Regions from separate parts of the Homo sapiens genome. Here region 1 is linked to region 2. Evidence: promoter capture Hi-C in human tissues and cell types (Jung and others, 2019). All regions are on one chromosome and are shown on one strand. Each heading gives the region's core, a stretch centred on a gene start or on the middle of the fragment in contact. The rest is flanking DNA. Distances are from core to core; before and after follow the strand shown.

Region 1 (6,023 bases), core at 3,524-6,023, 140 kb before region 2:
GGGACAAAGCAGGTGAGTACCCATGTCTGCGCCCTGGCTCAGAGATTACTCCAAGTCCAGGTCCTAGAGGGGTGAATACCCCTGGTGTGGGATTGGCTGGTTTAGTACTCATGTCTCTGTCATGGTCCAGAAAGTACCCTTGGTCTAGGTCCTAGTGGAGTGAGTACCCTGGTGAGGGATAGCCTGGGTTAGTACCCATGTCTCTGCCCTGGTTCGGAGAGTACTCGTGGCCCACGTCTTCGTGGAGTGAGGAACTCTGGCACGTAGTGCCTCCCTGTTAGGGTTAATGCTCGTATTGGATTCATAGTGAGCTGTGTTGCTGGGTAAAATACTCGAGGTGACAGTAGCAGTCTGTGCTGCTGTAGGATGAGGACACATTTTCTGGGCTACTTTCTTGGTGCCACTGGTATGGGCTGAAATTTCACCCTCCGTGTGCCCAGGTGGCGGCGGTGGTGGTGCGTTTGCATGTGGTGGGCTGGAGCTGCGCCCGTGTGTTCTTCTGTGTGTTTGGGAGGCTGAGTTCTCGTGGTCTGAGTCGTCTCAATTGAGTACTAGGTCCTGTGTCACGTGGGCTGTGTATCTGTGGTCTGTGTCTCCTGGTAAACACTGTTTAAAATGAGTTCCGGGGTCTCTGCCTCCAAGGGAGTGCGGGACGCTGGCGTGGGCTGAGCTGCCAGGGTAAAGAATCCACTGCAGCACCTGTGGCTTCAGTGCCTCGGTGGGGTGGGGCCGATGGCCTGCAGGTGAGCAGTGTTAAAGGAAACATGGTTCAATGATGCTTGTTAAAACACGGCAGACTTCATTCGGGGCCACTGGGTCCCTGGGTGTGAGACAGCCTGGGCTGGTACCATAGGGGAGCTGGTCTCCAGGTCCCTGTTGGGGGGGTCTGGTCTCTGGGTCCCTGTGGGGGGGGTCTGGTCTCTGGGTCCCTGTGGTGGGGGGGGGTCTCTGGGTCCCTGTGGGGGCGGCTGGTCTCTGGGTCCCTGTGGGGGTGTCTGGTCTCTGGGTCCCTGTGGTGGGGGGGGTCTCTGGGTCCCTGTTGGGGGGTCTGGTCTCTGGGTCCCTGTAGGGGTTCTGGTCGCTGGGTCCCTGTAGGCGGGTCTGGTCTCTGGGTCCCTGTGGGGGGGTTCTGGTCTCTGGGTCCCTGTGGTGGGGGGGGGGTCTCTGGGTCCCTGTTGGGGGGTCTGGTCTCTGGGTCCCTGTGGGGGCGGCTGGTCTCTGGGTCCCTGTGGTGGGGGGGGTCTCTGGGTCCCTGTTGGGGGGTCTGGTCTCTGGGTCCCTGTGGGGGCGGCTGGTCTCTGGGTCCCTGTGGTGGGTCTGGTCTCTGGGTCCCTGTGGGGGGGTTCTGGTCTCTGGGTCCCTGTGGGGGCAGCTGGTCTCTGGGTCCCTGTGGGGGTTTCTGGTCTCTGGGTCCCTGTGGGGGGGTCTGGTCTCTGGGTCCCTGTGGTGGGGGGGGTCTCTGGGTCCCTGTGGGGGGGTCTGGTCTCTGGGTACCTGTGGGGGCAGCTGGTCTCTGGGTCCCTGTGGGGGGGTTCTGGTCTCTGGGTCCCTGTGGGGGCGGCTTGTCTCTGGGTCTCTGTGGGGGGGTCTGGTCTCTGGGTCCCTGTGGAGGCGGCTGGTCTCTGGGTCCCTGTAGGGGTTCTGGTCTCTGGGTCCCTGTGGGCGGGTCTGGTCTCTGGGTCTGTTGGGGGGGTCTGGTCTCTGGGTCCCTGTGGGGGGGGTCTGGTCTCTGGGTCCCTGTGGTGGGGGGGGGTCTCTGGGTCCCTGTGGGGGCGGCTGGTCTCTGGGTCCCTGTGGGGGTGTCTGGTCTCTGGGTCCCTGTGGTGGGGGGGGTCTCTGGGTCCCTGTTGGGGGGTCTGGTCTCTGGGTCCCTGTAGGGGTTCTGGTCGCTGGGTCCCTGTAGGCGGGTCTGGTCTCTGGGTCCCTGTGGGGGGGTTCTGGTCTCTGGGTCCCTGTGGGGGTGTCTGGTCTCTGGGTCCCTGTGGTGGGGGGGGTCTCTGGGTCCCTGTTGGGGGGTCTGGTCTCTGGGTCCCTGTAGGGGTTCTGGTCTCTGGGTCCCTGTGGGCGGGTCTGGTCTCTGGGTCCCTTTGGGGGGGTCCTGGTCTCTGGGTCCCTGTGGGGGCGGCTGGTCTCTGGGTCCCTGTGGGGGGTTCTGGTCTCTGGGTCCCTGTGGGGGCGGCTGATCTCTGGGTCCCTGTGGGGGGGTCTGGTCTCTGGGTCCCTGTTGGGGGGTCTGGTCTCTGGGTCTCTGTGGGGGTTCTGGTCTCTGGGTCCCTGGGGGGGCGGCTGGTCTCTGGGTCCCTGTGGGGGGTTCTGGTCTCTGGGTCCCTGTGGGGGCGGCTGGTCTCTGGGTCTCTGTGGGGGGGTCTGGTCTCTGGGTCCCTGTGGGCGGGTCTGGTCTCTGGGTCCCTGTGGAGGCGGCTGGTCTCTGGGTCCCTGTGGGCGGGTCTGGTCTCTGGGTCCCTGTTGGGGGGTCTGGTCTCTGGGTCCCTGTGGGGGGGTTCTGGTCTCTGGGTCCCTGTGGGGGCAACTGGTCTCTGGGTCCCTGTGAGAGGTTCTGGTCTCTGGGTCCCTGTGGGGGGGTCTGGTCTCTGGGTCCCTGTGGGGGGATCTGGTCTCTGGGTCCCTGTGGTGGGGGGGGTCTCTGGGTCCCTGTGGGGGGGTCTGGTCTCTGGGTACCTGTGGGGGCAGCTGGTCTCTGGGTCCCTGTGGGGGGGTTCTGGTCTCTGGGTCCCTGTGGGGGCGGCTTGTCTCTGGGTCTCTGTGGGGGGGTCTGGTCTCTGGGTCCCTGTGGAGGCGGCTGGTCTCTGGGTCCCTGTAGGGGTTCTGGTCTCTGGGTCCCTGTGGGCGGGTCTGGTCTCTGGGTCCCTGTTGGGGGGTCTGGTCTCTGGGTACCTGTGGGGGTGTCTGGTCTCTGGGTCCCTGTGGTGGGGGGGTCTCTGGGTCCCTGTTGGGGGGTCTGGTCTCTGGGTCCCTGTAGGGGTTCTGGTCTCTGGGTCCCTGTGGGCGGGTCTGGTCTCTGGGTCCCTGTGGGGGGGTCCTGGTCTCTGGGTCCCTGTGGGGGCGGCTGGTCTCTGGGTCCCTGTGAGGGGTTCTGGTCTCTGGGTCCCTGTGGGGGCGGCTGATCTCTGGGTCCCTGTGGGGGGGTCTGGTCTCTGGGTCCCTGTAGGGGCGGCTGGTCTCTGGGTCCCTGTTGGGGGGTCTTGTCTCTGGGTCCCTGTAGGGGTTCTGGTCCCTGGGTCCCTGTAGGCGGGTCTGGTCTCTGGGTCCCTGTTGGGGGTTCTGGTCTCTGGGTCCCTGTGGGGGCGGCTGGTCTCTGGGTCCCTGTGGGGGTTCTGGTCCCTGGGTCCCTGTGGGGGCGGCTGGTCTCTGGGTCCCTGTGGGGGTTCTGGTCCCTGGGTCCCTGTGGGGGCGGCTGGTCTCTGGGTCCCTGTGGGGGCGGCTGGTCTCTGGGTCCCTGTGGGGGGTTCTGGTCCCTGGGTCCCTGTGGGCGGGTCTGGTCTCTGCATCCCTGTGTGGGGGTGGCTGGTCTCTGGGTCCCTGTGGGCGGGTCTGGTCTCTGGGTCCCTGTGTGGGGGTGGCTGGTCTCTGGGTCCCTGTGGGGGCGGCTGGTCTCTGGGTCCCTGTGGGGGCGGCTGGTCTCTGGGTCCCTGTGGGGGCGGCTGGTCTCTGGGTCCCTGTGGGGGGGGTCTGGTCTCTGGGTCCCTGTGGGGGCGGCTGGTCTCTGGGTCCCTGTGGGGGGGTCTGGTCTCTGGGTCCGTGTGGGGGTGGCTGGTCTCTGGGTCCCTGTGGGGGCGGCTGGTCTCTGGGTCCCTGTGGGCGGGTCTGGTCTCTGGGTCCCTGTGGGGGGGGTCTGGTCTCTGGGTCCCTGTGGGGGCGGCTGGTCTCTGGGTCCCTGTGGGGGGGTCTGGTCTCTGGGTCCCTGTGGGGGGGCCTGGTCTCTGGGTCCCTGTGGGCGGGTCTGGTCTCTGGGTCCCTGTGGGCGGGTCTGGTCTCTGGGTCCCTGTTGGGGGGGTCTGGTCTCTGGGTCCCTGTGGGGGTGTCTGGTCTCTGGGTCCCTGTGGTGGGGGGGGGGTCTCTGGGTCCCTGTTGGGGGGTCTGGTCTCTGGGTCCCTGTGGGGGCGGCTGGTCTCTGGGTCCCTGTGGTGGGGGGGGTCTCTGGGTCCCTGTTGGGGGGTCTGGTCTCTGGGTCCCTGTGGGGGCGGCTGGTCTCTGGGTCCCTGTGGTGGGTCTGGTCTCTGGGTCCCTGTGGGGGGGTTCTGGTCTCTGGGTCCCTGTGGGGGCAGCTGGTCTCTGGGTCCCTGTGGGGGTTTCTGGTCTCTGGGTCCCTGTGGGGGCAGCTGGTCTCTGGGTCCCTGTGGGGGGGTCCTGGTCTCTGGGTCCCTGTGGGGGCGGCTGGTCTCTGGGTCCCTGTGGGGGGTTCTGGTCTCTGGGTCCCTGTGGGGGGTTCTGGTCTCTGGGTCCCTGTGAGGTGGCTGGTCTCTGGGTCCCTGTGGGGGGGTCTGGTCCCTGGGTCCCTGTGGGGGGGTCTGGTCTCTGGGTCCCTGTGGGGGCGGCTCATCTCTGGGTCCCTGTTGGGGGCTCTGGTCTCTGGGTACCTGTGGCGGGGGGGGTCTCTGGGTCCCTGTTGGGGGGTCTGGTCTCTGGGTCCCTGTTGGGGCGGCTGGTCTCTGGGTCCCTGTGGGGGTGTCTGGTCTCTGGGTCCCTGTGGTTGGGGGGGTCTCTGGGTCCCTGTTGGGGGGTCTGGTCTCTGGGTCCCTGTGGGGGGGGTCTGGTCTCTGGGTCCCTGTGTGCGGGTGGCTGGTCTCTGGGTCCCTGTGGGGGGGTCTGGTCTCTGGGCCCCTGTGTGGGGGTGGCTGGTCTCTGGGTCCCTGTTGGGGGGTCTGGTCTCTGGGTCCCTGTGGGGGGGTCTGGTCTCTGGGTCCCTGTGGGGGGGCCTGGTCTCTGGGTCCCTGTGGGCGGGTCTGGTCTCTGGGTCCCTGTGGGGGTGGGTGGTCTCTGGGTCCCTGTGGGGGGGTCTGGTCTCTGGGTCCCTGTGGGGGAGTCTGGTCTCTGGGTCCCTGTGGGGGCGGCTGGTCTCCAGGGCTCTGTCGGGGGCAGCAGGATAGTCAGTCAGTGGTGGGATTCTCACCCTGACTTGCTCTTTGGACCAAGGTGGGCTCATTGGTCAACTGGGGAGGAAGGAAGAGGCGGCAGCAAACCTCAGCAGGCAGCTGGGAAGCCACAGCGGGGCCTCGGCTCCAGGCGGTGCCTTCCGAGGATGTGAGGAAGCGCCGCCCAGGTTGGGACACAGCCCCACCCACGGGCAGCTGCCCCTGCATCTTGAGCTGCTCTGGGCCTTCTGCGGGGCCCACCTGCCTCCTTCTCAAGCTGCCTCAGCTCCGCAGTCCTCCCCCAGGGCACTCTGGGGAGTCAGGGCTGCAGGGAATTTCTCCTCCTTCTTCAAAGGTGACCCCGGGGGCAGGTCCCGGCGCCTGGGAAGGGAACTTGCACAGCTAAATTCCCGCTGGACCCTGAGGCTGGACTCGCAGTCTGGACACCGACCTCCGGAGCCCTGAGTGGGTCGTCCCTGCCCTGCCCCTTCACTGCCCCTGCCCTGCCCCTGCCCCTGCCCCGTGCTGCCCCTGTCTTGCCCCTGCCCCTGCCCTGCCCTGCCCCTGCGCTGCCCCTGTGCTGTCCCTGTGCTGCCCCTGCCCCTGCCCTGCCCCTTCACTGCCCCGCCCCTGCCCCGCCCCTGCCCCGCCCCTGCCCTGCCCCTGCCCTGCCCCTGCGCTGCCCCTGTGCTGTCCCTGTGCTGCCCCTGCCCCTGCCCTGCCCCTTCACTGCCCCGCCCCTGCCCTGCCCCTGCCCCGCCACCCTGGCCTACATCCACTTCTCCATCCGGCCTGGTCTCCAGAGTGAGATGCGGCTCCAGCACGTCCCTGACGCCTCTGACCCTCCAGGGCTGTGAGCCCGTGCCCCCTCACACTCCTTCACAGGACCCCCGGCCCACAGGCAAACCGGGGGAGAGAGGGCCAAGCTGG
Region 2 (6,084 bases), core at 589-3,088:
GTGCACACCCACCCACTCAGGCTTCAGGAATCACCCTCGGGCAGCCCCAGTCGGGGAGGGGGGCATTCTCAGTTTCTAGCCCTGGGAAACCCCCGCCAGGCCCCCCCCCCAACACAGGAAGGTGTGTCAACTCTGCGGTGAGCCAGCGTCACTTCTCAAAGAGGAATTTGGCTTATCAGCCTCGCCAAGTGAAACTGGGGAGGGGCCCGGGGCCAGCACAACCTGCCCCTGCTCCCTTCCAGGGGTCCATAGAGCTCCTGAAGGAACGAGGAGGCTGGGAGCCCTCAGGCAGTGCTGGAGGGAGGAACGGAGATGGGCCCCAGGGGGCTAGAGCTGTACAGGGCAGCCCCAGACACCCACTGGCCTCTCACCACTTTCTGTAAGCTAAAGCTCCTTTCACAAAAATAGGCTCAGGGGCCAGCCAGGGACCCTCCCCAGGCCAGCTTAGACTCACCAAGTGGGAGGGCAGAGCTCGGCGGACTCGGGGGCCTGGCAGACGCCACGGCAACACGACCTCATACTGCTCCATGAGGGCCCAGGGCCGGCTGGGGGCAATCGCTGCAGGAGGGAGGGTCAGCAGGCATGAGGGGCCGGGGGGCAGGTTTCCTTCCCAGAGGCCTCCTGGGCCCTCAGATTCTGTCTCTTGCTGGGCTTGACCCTCCCCTGGGGAACTCACCAGATAGCTCTGGGACAAAGACTCAAGTGAGGGTTCTGTGCCTAAAAGACCCCAGGAGCGCCCCCAGGCATGGCCGGTGGGCCTGTGTCCTGCAGCACCCACACACAGTGCTCAGAGACGCTGTGGGTGCCAGCGGGTGCCAGTGACTCCACAGGTCTCCAGGCTGTCTCAGATCTCTGGAGGGGCCCGAGGGCAAGGATGAACCTTCCCCCCAGGGAGGAGGACTCGGGCCGCCGACCTGCCCGTTTCCATTCTCCTCCTCCATTCTTCTGATCATCTGATCGCATCTAACTGGGGAGCAGGAAGTGCCTCCCGGAGGCTGTTCACCTCCCAAGAACTGGAAACTCCCTGGTATCCGAGAGCAGAGGGCAGGGTCCCAGCATGCAATGGGCAGGGTTTCGGAGACCACCAACCCCAGGACCCTTTGCTCCCATTAAAACACAATAGTGGACGTGTCTCCATGACCACATCTCCAACCTGGAGAGGCAGCAGGGGAGCAGCCAGCCCCTATCTGCCCAGGAAACTGGCGGGAAGCAACCCGGCCTCCAGCCTGAAGCTCCTCAGCACACCCCAGCCCAAGTCACTCCAGGAGCAGGGGTGGGATCCAGGGTCAGCAGCCCCATGTCCTCCCCCAGGCAGGAGACGGGTCCCCTCAGCCCACACCCCTGCACTCCAGGCCTCAGCTTGTCTGCCCTCCCTTCCCTCCTCGGCTAAATAGTGGGGGTGGGTAGCCCCACAGGTGAATCCCAGGAACCCAGGGCGCCTCGCGCAGCAGGTGAAGCGTCCTGCTTGGCCCGGCCCCGACCCCACTAACAAGCTCAGAGGCGGGACTTCCCTCTCACAGTTCACCTTTGAAGGTTCCCTCCGACCTCCCCGGCCTCCCCGGCCCGGGGCTCTCCACCCAGAGACCACTGTGCACCTGATGGCCCGCTCCCAGGGACCAGCCCGAAGCCGGGCCAGGGTGCGGGGTGCGAGCAGGCCAGGGGCTCGGGGTCCGCGTCGCGTCCTGCGGGGAGAGCCACCCTGCCCCGCGCTGCGCCCGGGACGGTTCCCTGGAACCACTCACCAGGCAGCATCATCGCGCCCAGCAGCCAGAGCCCGAGGCCGCGCATGGCCGGGTCGGGGAGCAGAGGCGGAGGTGACAGCCCCGCGGGACACGGTCTGGTTCCTGCGCTCCTGGCCCGAGGCTCTTTTCCGCGCGCCCCGCCCCGGCGCCCCGCAGCCAATGGGCCCCTCGGCCGGTGGGAGGGGCGGGGCGCGCGGCACCTGGGGGCGGGGTCCGTTTCCCCTCTCCCCACAATCCAGCATCCTCCCTTGCACAGGTGAGGAAACTCAGGCACAGCCTGTCCCAAGTCCGGCCAGAGCCCCGAGAGGGGGCCTCTCGAAGGACCCGGCGGCTGGAAGGAGGTGGCGCCAGGCAGGTCCTGGAGGGGAAGGGACTTGTGAGGGCCGCCTGGCGGTTTCAGGAGAGGGGGTCTCTGATTTCCTGGGGAACAGAAAGCCTCAGGCAGGGGCAAGTCATGGCTTTGTGGGCATAGGTTCAGCCCTGTGGGAAGCTCTGCCACCCTCCCCCCCAAGCCTGCGCCCCCTCCACCAGGCTGAGGCCTCACCGGAGTGGGATAGGCATGGGCCCGCAGGCGTCCAAGTGGGGAGGGGGAGCCCTAGGTGGGGGTCCCAGCCCAGGTGATGGCAGGTGCAGGGGCCGTCCCTAGCCTAAGATCCCCAGACAGCAGCTGACGCTGGCCGACGTGGACCAAAGCCTGCAGCAGCCCACCGTGGCCTGGCTCCGGCGTCTCCAGGCCTGCGGCCAAGCGTGCTTGCCCTTGGTGACCACATTCCCCGTGGTGGGCTCAGCCTCGAGGGTGCAGGTTTGGGCTGACACCACAGCTCCCCAGACGGTCCACCCAGGACCCCTCCCTGGGGCTTTCACAGCCAGGCCGCCCTCCTGGAGTGGGAACAGTGGTGGTGGCAGGAAAGGCAGCTCAGATGACCACACAGGGCGCTGCTGACAGATCACATGGGGGGGGGGGGCCTCAGGGCCTCCCTGGGGAGAGGCAGGGCAGGGCCAGCAAGGGGCTGGAGGGAGTCCTGCCTGGAGAGAGGGCACCAGGGCAGGGCGAGTCAGGGAACTGCACGGGCCTAGGGGCAGAGGACAGAGGTCAAGGGGCAGTGGCAAGAAGAGGCCGGGGCCTCGGACGTTATCCTGGGAGGACAGGGAACCCGGAGGATCTAAGCTGGCGTGAGTGATGCTGTCACATTTTGTCTCAAAGCCATTCTTACCCTAATGTGAATGGCATGAAAAGCAAGAAAGCAAGGGCTGGCACTGGGCCGCAGGTGACTTCTGCTGCCTGGGGGTGTGTCCGCTTGCCTGTGTGGCACAGGACGAGGTCCCCCAGGCTGCCGAGAGGCTCCCAGGTAGGGCTGGGGATACTGGCCTGTGCCTGAGCTCATGCAGGTGACCCTGTTATTATAGAACAATGGCCAGCTGGCAATCACACTTCCCTTCCTTGACCTCATGGTGCAAGTTACTCAACAGCAAAGTGCAAAGGCGGCACGCTGGCCACATCAGAGGCACAGCAAGGCCCCTGCCGACGCTGAGCTACCAGGGATTTATTCCTAAAAAGACAGGACCAGCTTGGGCCAGAACAGGCTCCTCCCGCGCTGAGGAAGTTCCACCCAATCCCACAGAACACAGCTCTCCTCTTCAGCAGGTGCCGGGGGGTCTGGGAGCCTGAACCCCACAGCCCTGGAGGCTTCCCTCCCCTCCTCCTATCACCACCTGCAAACCCCACTTCTCAAGGCCCAGGGCTTCCCAGACCCCAGGACACAAGATCAGGGGTTTCTGGGCCTCGGGGCCAGGCAGGAAAGCTAGCAGGCTCCTCTGCTCACCAGTCCGGCATTTGCACAACACTGAGACTGACAGCTTGGGTTGCTGATAAATGTGTTTACTCACAGGCCAGACCTGCACAGCCTGCAGACAAGGAGGAAGCGGTTTGTGGCTGGAGAGTTGGACACCCCCACCCCCACTCGGCGGTGCTCTCAGTGAGGCAGCCCCGGGTGAGAGCTGCCCACAACCCTTGTTCCCCGCAGGATCCTGTTCTAGCTATCCTTTCTCCCAACCTCGCCTCCAGGGCCCTTCCTCACTGCCCAAGGGGGCCGAGGTGCTGAGAGCTGAAGGTGACAACAATACACATGCAGGTCAGCAGGAAGGGGCAGCTTGGCCAGAATGTAACCAGAGCAGACCAACCTGGCCGGGCAGCCCTGAGGCTCCCAGGGCCCTGTCACACTGGGGATGGCGGTGCTGCCCACTGTAGCCCTGGAGGTGGGAAGACAGGGCAGATGATCGCCCGAGGGGGATTGGGTGTCAGTCTGCTGAGTAAGTTCTACGTAACAAGGCGGTACCGGATAGGGCGGGGTGGGGTTTCCAGCCAGCAGCAGAGCCTGCCCCTCGACCCACTCCCACGGAGGGGGAGGTGTGGGCTCCCAGGGTGCCTGAGGGCCCTGTCTGTGGCCTCCTGCCCTGGACCAGTTGGAGCAGCAGCAGGAGGAGGGTCGTGGAGGCGGGTGAGTCCTCAGGAGAAGGAACGGGGCTGCCTCTGGGGCCAAAGCAAACCCGACACCCGATGCCCGGTGGGTTTCCACAACTCCCTGACCGTTTCCAGAGGCTTGTCCCGGTTCCGACAGACCTCAGGAAGCCCGGCCCCAGCTCACCCGGAAAGATGTGGACACCAGGCCTGGATCTTACCCCACATGCATCTTTGCTTGCTCCTGGCTTAAACACCATGTATTTCCACTTTGAGGCCAAAAACACCCAAAAAGGTGATAGTGTAATTTCAAAAAGCAAACAGATTAGCAAATCCAGGGAGACATCCACCCTGCCTGGGCAGCTTCTATAAAACGAAACCCAGCGCCTTGAGAAACAAAGTGAGCTGAGTCAATCATTCCTGCTTTATATTTAAACTGCAAAGACAGAACACAGAGCATTCGATTTGAAAATTCTGGACCCATTTGCACCAGTCCCTGCTGACCCCACACCCTTCCTTCCTGTCACAGCCAGGGCTCACTGTGCGGTGACTGCGACCCTGGGTGCAGGAGCCGGGGGCCCCCGCAGGACAGGCACTTGGGGGGTGGCCTTCTGGCTCCTCTCTGCAGACAGGCGCTCCAGGCGCTCCGTGTAGAAACCATTGAAGTCAAGCCTGTGAGGAAGGACAGTGGAGCTGGGGTGCACACCCCTTCTGCGGGTGCATGCTGGGCAGCAGGGGTGTGGAAGGACGGTGCAGCTAGGGTGCACACCCCTTCTGCGGGTGCGTGCTGGGCAGCAGGGGTGAGGAAGGACAGTGGAGCTGGGGCACACACTCCTTCTGCGGGTCCGTCCTGAGCAGCCCTGCTCCTACCATGGGGAAGTGTTCAGCTACAGAGACCATAAGAGGCCCTGCAGGGGTGAGGGTGAGGCACGCTCCTAACTAATGTTTCCACAGGAAGGTTTTCAGTCCTGTTCAGTCCTGCTCAAAGGCACAAACACAGGTTTCTTCTCTCCTGGCCCCAGAAAGTTGGGGCTCCCATCACCCCAACAGGGCCTAGCAATGGGGCCTGAGGTGTCAGGGGCTTGGAGAACCAAGCAGTGGTTCTCAATGCAGGGTGGCCTCAGAAATCCCTGCTCAGAAAATCAGAACATTTGTGGGGGGCACAGGGCACAGGGTGGTCCAAAAGCACAAATAGGCACCTTCCCAAGGACAGCACCCCCAAGGGCACCACCCCTTCCAGGCTGGCAGTTTGGCCACCTGGCCCTTTCCCCCAGGCTAGGTGTTAGTGCAGCATGAGGGAAGCTGACCCAGGCCTGATCAGCCCCACAGGACACACACAGCCGCAGGGTGCCAATGGGGCAGCCCAGTTGCACAGAATGTCACACCCCAGGGAGAGCTGGGCTAGCCTGACTTCAGGGAGTGGCATATGACCAGCACTAGCACCAGGACACAGACCTGCCCCACCTTCTGAAGGAGGCTACACCAGGTGGACCAGGGGAGGGTGCAGGGGAGATGGGGCCTGGATGCAGGGACAGGTGCTGAGCTGGGGTGGCGCTGGGCTGGGGCAGATGCTGGGCTGAGCTGAGGAAGGGCTGAGCCGGGGCAGGCGCTGGGCTGAGCTGGGGGAAGGCTGAGCCGGGGCAGCACTGGGCCAGGGCGGTGCTGGGCAGGGGCAGGCGCTGGGCTGAGCTGGGGGAAGGCTGAGCCGGGACAGCACTGGGCCAGGGCGGTGTTGGGCAGGGGCAGGTGCTGGACTGAGCTGAGGAAGGGCTGAGCCAGGGCGGTGCTGGGCAGGGGCAGGTGCTGGGCTGAGCTGGGGGAAGGCTGAGCCGGGGCAGCACTGGGCCAGGGCAGTGCTGGGCAGGGGCAGGTGCTGGGCTGAGC

What was found. The method cuts DNA at HindIII sites, captures the fragments that hold promoters and counts their contacts. A contact is called where the count stands out against the background at its distance.
Region 1: a contact is called between a fragment that was not itself captured here and the fragment with the promoter of ADAM8 in region 2, in 1 of the 25 tissues and cell types used here (H1 embryonic stem cells).

Annotation. Positions count from the first base shown.
Region 1 is chr10:133,134,534-133,140,556 of GRCh38, forward strand. No RefSeq gene overlaps it. Among named protein-coding and RNA genes, the nearest start is that of KNDC1, 23 kb to the right of the region's middle. RefSeq lists an enhancer at 5,760-6,023. The HindIII fragment of the contact is 9,815 bases long and covers 1-6,023 here.
Region 2 is chr10:133,275,030-133,281,113 of GRCh38, forward strand. It overlaps ADAM8 (ADAM metallopeptidase domain 8), which reads right to left and starts at 1,839. Exons shown (of 23, transcript NM_001109.5): 1 at 1,743-1,839; 2 at 455-558. The coding sequence starts at 1,788. It overlaps TUBGCP2 (tubulin gamma complex component 2), which reads right to left. Exons shown (of 18, transcript NM_006659.4): 18 at 3,606-4,872. The coding sequence ends at 4,737. RefSeq lists enhancers at 19-278, 1,282-1,929, 3,244-3,293, 3,784-3,863 and a silencer at 1,529-2,088. The HindIII fragment of the contact is 31,119 bases long and covers 1-6,084 here.